Linked DNA regions of Homo sapiens: region 1 is linked to region 2. The links are contacts of gene promoters, found by promoter capture Hi-C in human tissues and cell types (Jung and others, 2019). All regions are on one chromosome and are shown on one strand. The core of a region is centred on a gene start or on the middle of the fragment in contact, and the rest is flanking DNA. Distances in the headings are between cores, read along the strand shown. Region 1 has its middle 42 kb from the start of LINC02753. Region 2 holds the start of ANO1 (anoctamin 1).

What was found. The method cuts DNA at HindIII sites, captures the fragments that hold promoters and counts their contacts. A contact is called where the count stands out against the background at its distance.
Region 1: a contact is called between a fragment that was not itself captured here and the fragment with the promoter of ANO1 in region 2, in 3 of the 25 tissues and cell types used here (IMR-90 fibroblasts, stomach and thymus).

What each region holds. Positions count from the first base shown.
Region 1 is chr11:70,019,987-70,026,209 of GRCh38, reverse strand. It overlaps a transcript of ANO1 not described here. Among named protein-coding and RNA genes, the nearest start is that of LINC02753, 42 kb to the left of the region's middle. RefSeq lists a silencer at 301-699. The HindIII fragment of the contact is 5,891 bases long and covers 311-6,201 here.
Region 2 is chr11:70,074,323-70,079,767 of GRCh38, reverse strand. ANO1 (anoctamin 1) reads right to left here and starts at 1,451. Exons shown (of 26, transcript NM_018043.7): 1 at 1,054-1,451. The coding sequence starts at 1,161. LINC02584 (long intergenic non-protein coding RNA 2584) reads left to right here and starts at 4,420. Exons shown (of 3, transcript NR_103835.1): 1 at 4,420-4,446; 2 at 4,562-4,832. It also overlaps the pseudogene RNU6-1175P. The HindIII fragment of the contact is 18,532 bases long and covers 1-5,445 here.

The DNA.
Region 1 (6,223 bases), core at 2,007-4,506, 55 kb after region 2:
CACCATCACCACCACCATCATCATCATCACCACCACCACCATCATCACCATCATCATCATCACTGTCATCACCACTACCACCAGCACCATCGTCATCATCACCACCACCACCGTCATCATCATCATCATCATCACCACCACCACATCATCATCACCACCACCACCATCATCACCATCATCATCACCATCACCACCACCATCATCATCATCATCATCACCACCACTACCACCATCGTCACCATCATCATCATCACTGTCATCACCACTACCACCAGCACCATCATCATCGTCACCACCACCACCATCATCATCATCATCACCATCATCACCACCACCATCATCATCATCACCATCACCACCACCATCATCATCATCACCACCACCATCATCATCACCATCATCATCATCACTGTCAACACCACTACCACCAGCACCATCATCATCGTCACCACCACCACCATCATCATCATCATCACCATCACCACCACCATCATCATCACCATCACCACCACCATCATCATCGTCACCACCACCACCATCATTATTGTCATCATCACAATCACCACCACCACCATCATCAACACCATCATCACCACCATCATTATCATCATCATCACTGTCATCACTACCTCCATCATCATCATCATCATTGTCATCACCATCACCACTATCATTACTGTCATCATCACAATCACCACCACCATCATCGCCATCATTGTCATCACCTCCATCACCACCATCACCATCATCATCATCATCTTCACTGTCATCACCATTACCATCAGCACCATCGTCATCATTGTCACCACCACCACCATCATTATTCTCATCATCACAATCACCACCACCACCATCATTATCATGATCATGATTGCAGCAGACACCAGTTCTTCCTTCATAACAGGCATAGTGCTAAGGTGTTGGATGCTACTGTCTAACCCTCACTACCACCTTATAAGTTGTACATTCTGTCACATGCCCTTGTTTGGATGAGAAGTCTGAGGACCAGAGAGGTGAAGTAACTTGCCCAACGTCATCCAGCTGGCAAGGAGAAGAGCTGGGCATGGAATTCAGATCTGAGGCCAAAGCTGTGTTCTGAGGCACAGCTCCAGCCCATGTGGTTTCCTGAACAGCCATGGAAGGCTTTTATTTTCATTTTCTTGTCCATCTTTTTTCCTCCAACTGAGACCCTCAGATGCTCAGATGTCACTGGAGCCCAGCATTTCAGCACCAAGTCCTTGCAGCTGTCTGTCCCACCCCACAACTCCCTGGCTCAACAGAGCTTCCCTGCTGCCCTTGGAGTGTGCCTGTGTGGTCCCTGTCTCACAAGCTCATAGTCAATAGGAGAAGCAGACAAGTCTATCTATGTGCCCCCCTGCTAGGCCCAGGTCCTCCTTTCAGGGGAGGCAGCTCGGGCGGTGGGATCCGCCTATGTCTGTCCAGGCTGTCAGCGGGGCTTTGTGCCTGGTGACCATCCAGACAGAGGCAGCTCTGCAAGCTGCTGAGAGTGGTGGTGGTGGCGAAGAACTTGGGAGCCCGAGTCAAAATCAAGGTCTCTGAGCCCGAGTTTCCCCATCTGTGAACTGGGGAGAGGGCCACAAACTCCAGCTTCCCAGGGGTATTGCAAGGATGAAAGCAGACGGTGCCCAGGGAGCCCTTGGCACAGTGCCAAGCCCATCACTGGCATAAGAAACCTTAGCTGGGACCACTCTTTGGGCCACTGTCTGAAGCTCCGTTGAGAAGAGCTATTCTCTGCAGGGGAAGCAGGTCTAGCGGGCGAATGTCTTCTGCCCGGCACTCACTCCCTCCCTTGTGCCGTTCTTGTCCTGGTTTTCCTTAAGGAAACACCACTGCCCCCTTTCAGCCCATGTGGTTTATGGGCTATGTGTCCCCCCGCTCCAGATGGTCTCAGGGATCTGCTAGTGGGTACACACAGCTAAGCATCCCCCAGGCCATTGCGACTCATTTAGGGAGGGTCAAAGACCTCAGGCAGGACCGTCAGAGATAGCCTTGGGCTCCCTGCTGGAGTGCCCAGGGGCAAGCTCTCTGTCCACTGGGGCTGCCCAAGGTGAAAGCCAGGAGCTGTGCCTGCCATCTGGACACTAAGAGAGTAGTCCTGAGGGTGGACCCAACCCAAAGAACAGCAGAGCCAAGAGGAGGAGAGAGATGGAGATTTGGAAACATTAGACCCCCGGATTCAGCTATGTCTGAAGCTGGTCTTGGGTTTTCTGTCTTTTACAACCCAAGCAATCCTGGATAGTATTGGTAGGTTGCAGTGAACCACCTGCATTTTCTCGACAAGACTTTGGTAAACTTGAAATCCCTGAAATGTAAAGCACAGAGCAACTACAGGCCAGTCTTCTTCCCCATCCTCTTCTCACCACTCTTTTCTTTCTTTGATTCTTGGCCCACACATGGCTGGGATAAAGACACACACTCCTATGCAGATGCTGGGAAGGAAAGGTACATTAACATGGCCTTTATTGTTTAACCATCTACTGATGGTTTAAATATTTGGCATTTCTTAAAAGAAACAGATCTTCCCCAATGGGCAGCCTTGCAGTGTGAGCATGAGGCTACAACTCCTAAACCAGGACAGAACAAAAGCCAACTTCCCTAAGCCCTGATGTTGGCAGCGACTAGACCATCTCAGTACTGGGCCGAATCTCACCCCTAGAAGTAAAGAAAGTGCCCCTACTCCCACCCAAAATGCTCCATGGTCATCTACATTTGGGGAAGGCTATATTCTGCACTGTTGGACATTCATTGTGTTGGCATCTAAGAAGCCTCTGACAAGACGTGCCATGAACAAATCCACTAGACATGGTTTAGCCTGGGATCTCCCAAATGGCGAGCTCTGGAGGGCAGAGACTGAGTCTGACTTATACATGGCCATGCTCCTGCTAAATGGAGTCAATGCGGAAAGGTGCAGGCACTAACACATGCCGGTCCAACAATGATTAAGCCTCAGAGCCATGGCATGCATTTCCCCTCATCTCCCAGCGCACGAGTTTCCCACTGTGCAGCGGGAGATCAACAAAGCTTAGTGGCTTAAAACAGCACATGATTATTATCTTAAATTCCAGAAGTCCGGCATGGATCTCACTGGGCTAAAGCTAAGGTGTCAGCAGGGCTGTTCCTTCTGGAGGTTCCAGGGAGAGCTTGTTTCCTTGCCTTCTCCAGCTTCTAGAGGCCACCTGCAGTCCTTGCCTTGTGGCCCCTGCCTCCATCTCAAGCTGGCAGTGCATCCCTCTGACCTCTGTTTCTGTCCTCATGTCTTCCCCGACTCTGCTTCCCCTGCCTCCTCTTACTTATAAGCTCCCTGTGATGATGTTGGGCCCACCAGATAGTCTGGGGCTATCTCCCTGCCTCAAGGTCAGCTGATTAGCAGCCTTGATTCCATCTACAGCCTTAACTCCTCCTTGAAGTGTAATAAAAGAGATTCACGGGTTCTGGGGATCAGGACACAGACATCTTTGGGGGTCGTGATTCTGCTTGCCACACCCACTAAGTGAACACACTCAAATTTGGGGGAAAGCAAGCTAGGTGAGGCTGGCTCTATGGGGCCATCAGTGGCTTCACTCTTGCATTCTTTTTTTTTTTTGAGATGGAGTCTCACTCTGTTGCCAAGGCTGGAGTACAGTGGCATGATCTCGGCTCACTGCAACCTCCATCTCCCGTCTCCCAGGCTTGAGCAATTCATCTGCCTCAGCCTCCCAAGTAGCTGGGACTAGAGGCACCTGCCACCACGTCCGGCTAATTTTTGTATTTTTGGTAGAGACGGGGTTTCACCATGTTGGCCAGGTTGGTCTTGAACTCCTGACCTCACGTGATCCACTTGCCTCGGCCTCCCAAAGTGCTGGGATGACAGGCGTGAGCCACCACACCCGGCTTCCATTCAGTAAGTCCTTATTGAGCACCTACTGTGTGCCAGAACCTTGATGTGTGCTGAGGTCCAGAGTCGTGAAGAGGCCATACCAAGACCCTACCTTCATGGGGTCTTTTGGTTAAAATAGAGGCAAAAGCAGACAGATGAATCCAAGTTGAATAAGTCCCAGAGGGTGAGTTGGGCCTTCCATGGGCCTGTCTCGGAAAGCATTTTTTCCTCTGGGATTTCTGCCCAACGTGAGATGTCAAAGCGGCAGGAAGTGGAGCAAGGAGGGAAGGGGCCCAACCCCAGGGAGAAGCAGGACTCTCTCAGTTTGGGTCTGATCTGAGCACACAGCAGCACACCTTATGCTTGGTTTCGTCTGCTCCTTTTTTTGGACATTCTGGTCTTTGGGGGAACAAGTTCTTGTGTGACAGCAGCTCAGTTTTAAAATACTCTGCGCACTCTTTGGGATTCAGTTCGCACGCTCCTGCCTGTGAATGTCACAGGCAGTGGGATGTGAAGGGGCTCCTGGCAGGGCAGTGGACACAGAGGGATGAGTTTACAGGGCTCTGGCTTCAGTCTCTGGAGCCTTCCTGGGCAAGAGCCTGGCTCCCGAGGCCTTGCCCAGCCTTGGGCTGATGTTTAACAAATGTCACCGCTGGAATTTCTCAGACGATCGACATGGGAAAAACCGAGGAAGAGAGGGACCAGGAAGTGGATGCATTAAAAATAATGAGGCCGCTTTAAATGGACCAGGTTCCGGGGGACAATGGGAACCACGTCCTCAGTTTATTTAAAAATACACTTTATTTTCCATTCTGTTTCTGTTTAATTTCTTCTGATAGAGCTAAAAAAAAAAAAGAAACAACAACAACAAAAAGCACTCTCCTTATTCTAAAAACTGAAGTTGGTATATAGCTTTACAAAGAAAAAGAAGGGGTGGGAGTGAAAAGTATAGGTCACGACAGCCCCCTGCAACCACCACGCTCCCTCGCATGCACGAGGCCTAACCAACGTTCGTCAAGTCAGTGAGCACGTTGGCATTTGGAGTTTAGGATGAAACAGAGCTTTAGTCTTAAGCGGGATGACAATGTTTGGCATATTAGGAAGTTCTATCATTTTTCTTTCTCTTTTTGCTGATCAATATTTTTTCTCCACTAGATAATTCCATGGGGACAGGAGGATTATGGGCATGCGTTTGGGAGCGTAGAAGATGGGGGTTCGAATCCCTCCTCCCCCTTGGCAGCTGAGTGAGTTTGGATATGAGTCATTCTTCCTTGCAGAAGAAATATGAATTCCCACAGCGAGTCCACGTGCTCACTTATGGCCTGTCTGTAAAGGACGCACCCAGCCCGACGCCCGCAGCGAAGCACCTCTCGGTAAGTAGCAGTTACGACCGCGAACGATGACTACGAATGAGAGGCTGAATGGTCACTGGGCCTGTTTTTCTAAAAAGGTTAGCTCTTTGTTTGTTTTGAATAGTCCAGCCTTTTGATGCTTGGAGAATGGGAATGCGTTTCGGGCTTGTTTCTGGGTTTAGTTCTCTGCTGAGACACCTCTGGGAGGCTTCCTCTAAGTCTGCCCCCTGGGTCTAAACTGGCACCCACACCCAGCACTCTGTCCCCCTCTGGGGAACCCATGTCATCCCAGGCTGTCGAGATGGACTCTGTGGGATTGGGTTAGGCTGAAGCTTCACACCGCAGCAGCGAAGAGGGGTGTGGAGTGTGTTCTTGGGGTTGGTAGGGAGGTGGGGACAAATACCCGTCTGGTGACCCTTGGCCGGACCCACTGAGCTGGGAAGGAAGAGGGCCTTTCCAGCTGTCTGAGGGAGGTGCTGCTTTTCCTCCTCCTGCCAAGGCTGGAGAGAGGCTCAAGGAGCCCCAGGGGCTGGGGGAGGGTGGACCAGTCTGACTCTTTCTTCAAAGGCATCTGGCAAGAGGGTGGCATAAGTGTCCTGTGCAGTGGAGTGCGGCTGTCCTGAGTGAGAACTGACCCCACCACCAGCAGAGATGATGAGGGTGGGTGGTGAGGATGGAAGAAGGGTGTGGGGGATTTCCTGTGGATAGGAAGTGGGCTGTTGGGCAGGAACTGGCAGGAGTGAGGGGTCCCAAGCTTTCGCTATCAGACACATGTGCTCATGGGGTCCAATTTGGATGTTTTCATTACCCCATGGACTAAACAATCCACAAGAGTACCCTCAAATGAGTCAGCTTTAAACATCTGCCCCAGCTGGGGGGATAGAAGCCCACCAGATCACCTAGCGCCCGCCCACCAAGCCTGACCTCCCTGCCCTGCTGGCCTCTCCCCAACCTTGGAGGGTCCGGGGGAAGCCTAGAGATTGGGGAGGGGAGA
Region 2 (5,445 bases), core at 202-2,701:
TGAGCTCCAGAGACTAGAGGGACAGGCCAGGGCCATCCTCATCCTGCTTGAAGCAGCCCTGCTGGGCCTGACGCCTGGGGAGGGGCTTTGATGGGGTCTGCATGGGAAGAAGGTAGAAGGGAGCTTCTGTCCTTAGGTCCCACAAATTGCTGCTGAGAGCTTCCCTCACCCCAAGAGGAGATAGCCAGTCCCAGCCCTGTCCTATCCTCTTCCGGCAAACTTTGTCCTTCAAGCCAAACCCTTCCTGGGAGAATTCTGCCCCCCTCTCTAAAACATAGGGTTACCTAGACCTCTGGGTCTGGCCCTGGGGAGGGTGGTGGGGATATTGGGGACCTCAGGATGGGGTCCCCAACTTACATGACTGGCTTCCAACCAGTGCCCCCACCTGAACCAGGCCTGGGCGCCCAGGGGAGACAGGGGCGAGGGTAGAAAGCAATCTCCAATGATTGACACCCTGGGCTTTGAGAGTTTCGGTGCCAATGCCAGGGTACCAGGCCCAGTGCCCTGGGCACAATATGCGTTTCTGGCAAGTGAGGACTCGGGACTCTGGCCCCAGAGGATAGTGAAGCAGTGGGGCCTGGCAGTTACCATCATCGTGGAGTGGCGACCAACTTGGCCTTCACCCAAGACCCCCACCATCACCCTCACCCTGGCTGCCCCAACAGGTACCCCTGGCCGCGAGCCAGGAAGGGAAGGTCCCATCCAGGGCGCCAGCCGTGAGCTCTTGGTTGGGCTCCGAGCTGCAGCCCCGGGTGAGGCGGCTTCGGGGCCGCAGAGCTCCGAGGCCGGGCCATGCCTGGGGGCCCGGCGCTGCGCTGGGCGGAGTGGGCGCCGCGCTCGGAACGCTCAGAGCGCAGGCGGGGCGCACGCACTTGGCCAGGGCCGGCGCGCCCTTCCCGGCACGCACGTGCGCGGGTGGGCGCCGCGAACCCTGCGCGGAGGGTGCGGCCCCCGCCCTGGGGTCCCAGGAGGCCCTGCCGCCGCCCGGTTCCCGCCCTCGCCAAGGCGCAGGTGCGCGGCCCTCCCGCCCGGGTCGCGGCCGCCCGCACTCACCGTGCCCTCGGACGGCAGGTAGCCGATGTCCTCGATGGCGCAGATGTTGATGATGTGGACGCTGCGGTCCTCGGCCGGGAGCGTCGAGTACTTCTCGTTGACCCTCATCGTGGCCGCCTGTGCGCTGGGACCGCCGGGCGGCGCGCCCTCCCCATCCACGGCCCCGGCGGCCTCTGCGGGCGGAGACCGCAGCGTTCGCGGCGCGCTCGCAGGGGGCCGGGCCTCCCCGCGCCCAGGCCCGCCGGGGACGTGGCCGCCTCCCGCTCCGCCCGCCGCCCTGGCCCGCCCGGCCCGCGCGCTCGATGCGGGGGGCGCCTGAGCCTCTCGGGGCCGATCGCGCCGCCACCCGGCTGCTGGTCCCGCGGGCCGGCCCGCGCCTGGTCAGGAACTTGGACGCCAGCCGGCCCGCCTTTGCCTTAAAGATATAAGCGCTCTCCGCCCGCCTATGGCAGGGGCGGTGGCCGCGCCGGTCAGATTTTCCGTAGAAATTTAAACACAGGAAGAAAAAGTATTCCATTCCTGCGGGCCCCTCCAAGTTTTATTTTTATCCAGGGAAAGTGCCCCTTTGGATTTTTGAGGGTTTTCATACCGGGTGTGAAAGGGGGGAACTTTCAATAGCCCCACCTGAAATAAAGTCCCCGAGTGGCAGGCGCTTCTGTGGCGCGTCACCTCCGCCTCCGGGGGGAGTGAAGCTTCTGAGATTGGAGTCTGGATCTCTGCCCCTTTCCCTCCACCCTGGCAAACTCCTGCTGTCACTCAGCACTCACCTCCTCCGGGGAGCTTGCCTGGTTCCTGCCGACCCGCCCCCTCCAGCTGCCCGCGCTCCTGGGGGAGTCTCTCCCGGGGCAGTCATCTCCCTGGAGCCCACTGATGTTACCGGTGCCCCCGAGTTTACGGAGTGCTTAGTGTTCTGTGCCCAGGTGCGTGCAGCGTCCCTGATGTAGGGCGTGAGTGTGTATCATCTCATTTAACCCCGCACCTGCAAGGTTGGAATGCGGGTCCTCATTTTGCAGAGGACACTCAGGCTTAGGAGGGCCAAGGACCAGTCCGCATCCTCTGAGGTGGGGCGGGGCTCCTGCAGAGCTTTCCCCACTGCTGGGCAAGGCTGTCCTGCTTTCTGGAGGGGCGGAGCGGGGGGGATGGTGGCTTTGATCTCTCTTACCCCCGGACCTAGCAGGGGTCTGGCACACTGCAGATCTTCAAGTCTTCTTCCCCTAAGGAGAATAAGGCAGGTCCCCAGGGGACGACCATACTCAGGTTAAGCCCCAGGGGCCATGCTGGCCACCACATCCAGTGGAAATAAAGTGTCCCTCTGCCTCTCACATCCTATGAGTTCTTCACGGTGTGCATCAGATAGCACCTCCTGCAGGAAGTCCTGCTGGATTCTCCCCTACTGTCCCCTTCCCACCCAAATATGCAGGCCTTCCTGTCTATCCAAAGAACCTGCCTGAACCCCAACTAGCACTTCATTTATTCCGTCTCATTTTACAGTGGGTTGTCTACCAGGTTCACACAGCCGATGCTCAATAATTGCTTGTTAAATGGCCACTGGGGAACATTCAAGGCCTACAGAAGTGATTAGAAAATTGTCTTTAAAGGCCACGATGTCGTCAGCGTGCCATGGTTCCAAGCATGGAACCTGGAGTCAGCTAGGATAGGGTTGGAGAGAAGGGGTGGGGTCTAGCTCCAGCTCTGGCACCTTCCAGCCTTGTGACCTTGTGCCAGCCTCCTTGGCCTCAGAGCCTCCTGGGCCTCAGAGCCTCTGCCTTCTCATGGGAGTTTTAAGCGTGCCTGAAGCTGCCAGGCTTAGCAATGGTGACTGTTGTCACTACTAATGTCATCTTGTCATGACCTACCCTTTCCTGGTGCCTCAGTGAGACTCTCCCATTTAGGCACAAGTCTGTGACTTCCTTGAACTTGGGGCGGTGCAGGAAGGCTATTTGGTTCTCAGGCTGGTGGTGCCAACGGGCACTGAGTGGCCCTAAAGGACCCTTTGTCTGCACCTTGGACAGCGAGAGAGGGTTTGGAGAAGTGCCCCAGGCTGGCCAAATCCATGCCAGGAACAGTGCTCCACAGCCTCTGCTCCTTAAAAGTTCAAGTGTCCAGGGCTGGGAGAATCCCACACGCATGTACAGAGGATTATGTAACTCCATCCACTTATCTTTGTTGGTAAACAACCAACATTGTGTAATACTAATGTACTGTCTTTTCAAATTTGTGTTCGAGTGCCAACAGACCTTCCAGAGCTCTATGAGGTGCAGTTTGCATGAAAAAAAAAAAAGAGTAAAAATATACTTGGCCAAATCTGGACACACTGGTGCTCCCAAAGGTTTGGGAAGTGACATTTCTGGCCTGAGAGGGCTCTGGGGCTTGGGGGCTGCCTGCTGGGGGGCCATCTCCTAGGCAAGGTGGCCCCACCTTCTCCCCAACAGCACCCCTTGCGGCTTTACTCAAGAAACAGTGCTTAACCTCTAGTTTCTGTGATTTATACTGTAGCCAGGCTCAGGGCATCTGCTTGCCTGTAAGACTCCACTTTCTTTGCTATTGCCACTATGTTTCTTTTTTTCTCTCCAGTATCCCCACATTCTGTTTCCTCTCGCCCCTTCCCCAAGTCTTCCCAGGTGGACAGTGTGGACATGCCACAGCAAGGGCAGAGGAAATGCAGCGTGGCCTCTGTGCAGCAAGGGCCAGAGAGGACCAGTTCTGCCTCCAGGCCTCTCGTGGCCTTCGCCGGGGGTTCGTGGGTCTAGGGATTTCAGGGACCGACACAAAGTAAAAACAATAGCCCCCCAAAATAGGAGCGGGAAAAGAATTCCTGTAGCTGGAGATATCTCCCAAGCCAGGACAAGTTTACAGGGTCCTTTTTGTTCCATAGATGGTTCTCTTCTCTGGTTCCCTGTCCCCGCCTGTGTCCTATGGGTCACTTTGCTGGGATTCTCTCTCCACTCCAGTCACTAACTGCTTATACGTGGGGGCTCTCCATAAACTGTTGCACCCAGTTTTCTTTTTGTCTCAGTGATTTTTATCACTAAAACCCCACAGGGACAGATTTTGTGGGCAGGATTAATTCCCTGCTCATGAATTAGTAAAACCCTTGTCTAATTCGTCTAGATGGTGCATTTCATTATGGGAAGCTCCGGGCCTCCCAGCTGGCCTGTTTGGCCACAGTGTTGCTCTTCAGTGTCATTTGATGGCATGTGCCAACAGATACAGGTACAGGTGTCTTTGCTGATTTTTTTTTTTTTTTAAATATGGAATGCTTCATGAATTTGCGTGTCATCTTTGCGCAGGGGCCATACTAATCTTCTCTGTATCATTCCAATTTTAGTATACGTGCTGCCGAAGCGAGCACTTTGCGGACATTTTAATAGTCACCGGGGATGCAAGCATCAGGTGACAAGGAGCGCAGACCAACAAGCTGTCAGGAGGGTGGCTTCCTGGTAGGAGGCAGCACAGGGGAGCCCTTTTCAACGATATTTTATTTCCATCCCGTTGGCATTGCCCACAGGGAAGAATACCTCAGAGCACGGGCCAAGCTGTCTGCAACTCAGTGGGAAGTTGAACAAACCAAACTTTACAAAGGGAGGAAGAACGAGGTGCCCCAAATTATGGAGACACAGGGACTGGTTACCAAGACCATGGACCGGAACAAGAACCTCGCTCCCCATTAACCAACCGCATGGCCTTGGTGTGCCTAGATTTCCTCTTTTGTAAAGTGAGGCTGAAGTGTCTCCCTTTGGATGGTAGGCGAGGACCAAGAGGCCCAGCGCCTGGCGGTGGTGAGTCCAGGCCAGGGAGGCAAAGGTCTCTTCTAATAAAGGAGCTCTAGCGTGGGGCACAGTGGATGTCTCAGCACAGTGGATGTGTGGGGCTGGATCATCCTCTGTGGTGGGAGCTGGCTTGTGCAGTGTGGGACATTTTGCAGGCACCCTGGTGACCTCTACCCACCCATGAGATGCCAGCAGCACCCTCTGCCTCCAGCCCCAGTGTGACAACTAAAAATGTTTCTTGATGTTGTCAAATATCCTCCAGGGGACAAAACCAGCCCCAGTTGAGCACCACTGCTCTCAGATTTCTCAGCAGCCCTCACCTGCATGTCAACTGGACCTGGGGGGGCCAGCTTTATCAGTCCCCATTTCACAGGTGCACACACCTGGAGAGGTGATGTACTTGGCTTAAGGTCAGGCAGGAGAGCAAACTAGGCTTTCAGTCTAGCTCTCCTGACCCCCACCCCTCAAACCAGAGCTCACTCCATGAATTCAACACACAATCTAGAATTAGAGAGGTGGCAGAAAGGAGATTGGGTTTCTTTTTACAAAATAGAAATACACAGGTGCCCAGGGTTGCCCTCCATTGGTAGAGGTCGTGGCACCCACACAGCCCGGGTGCACT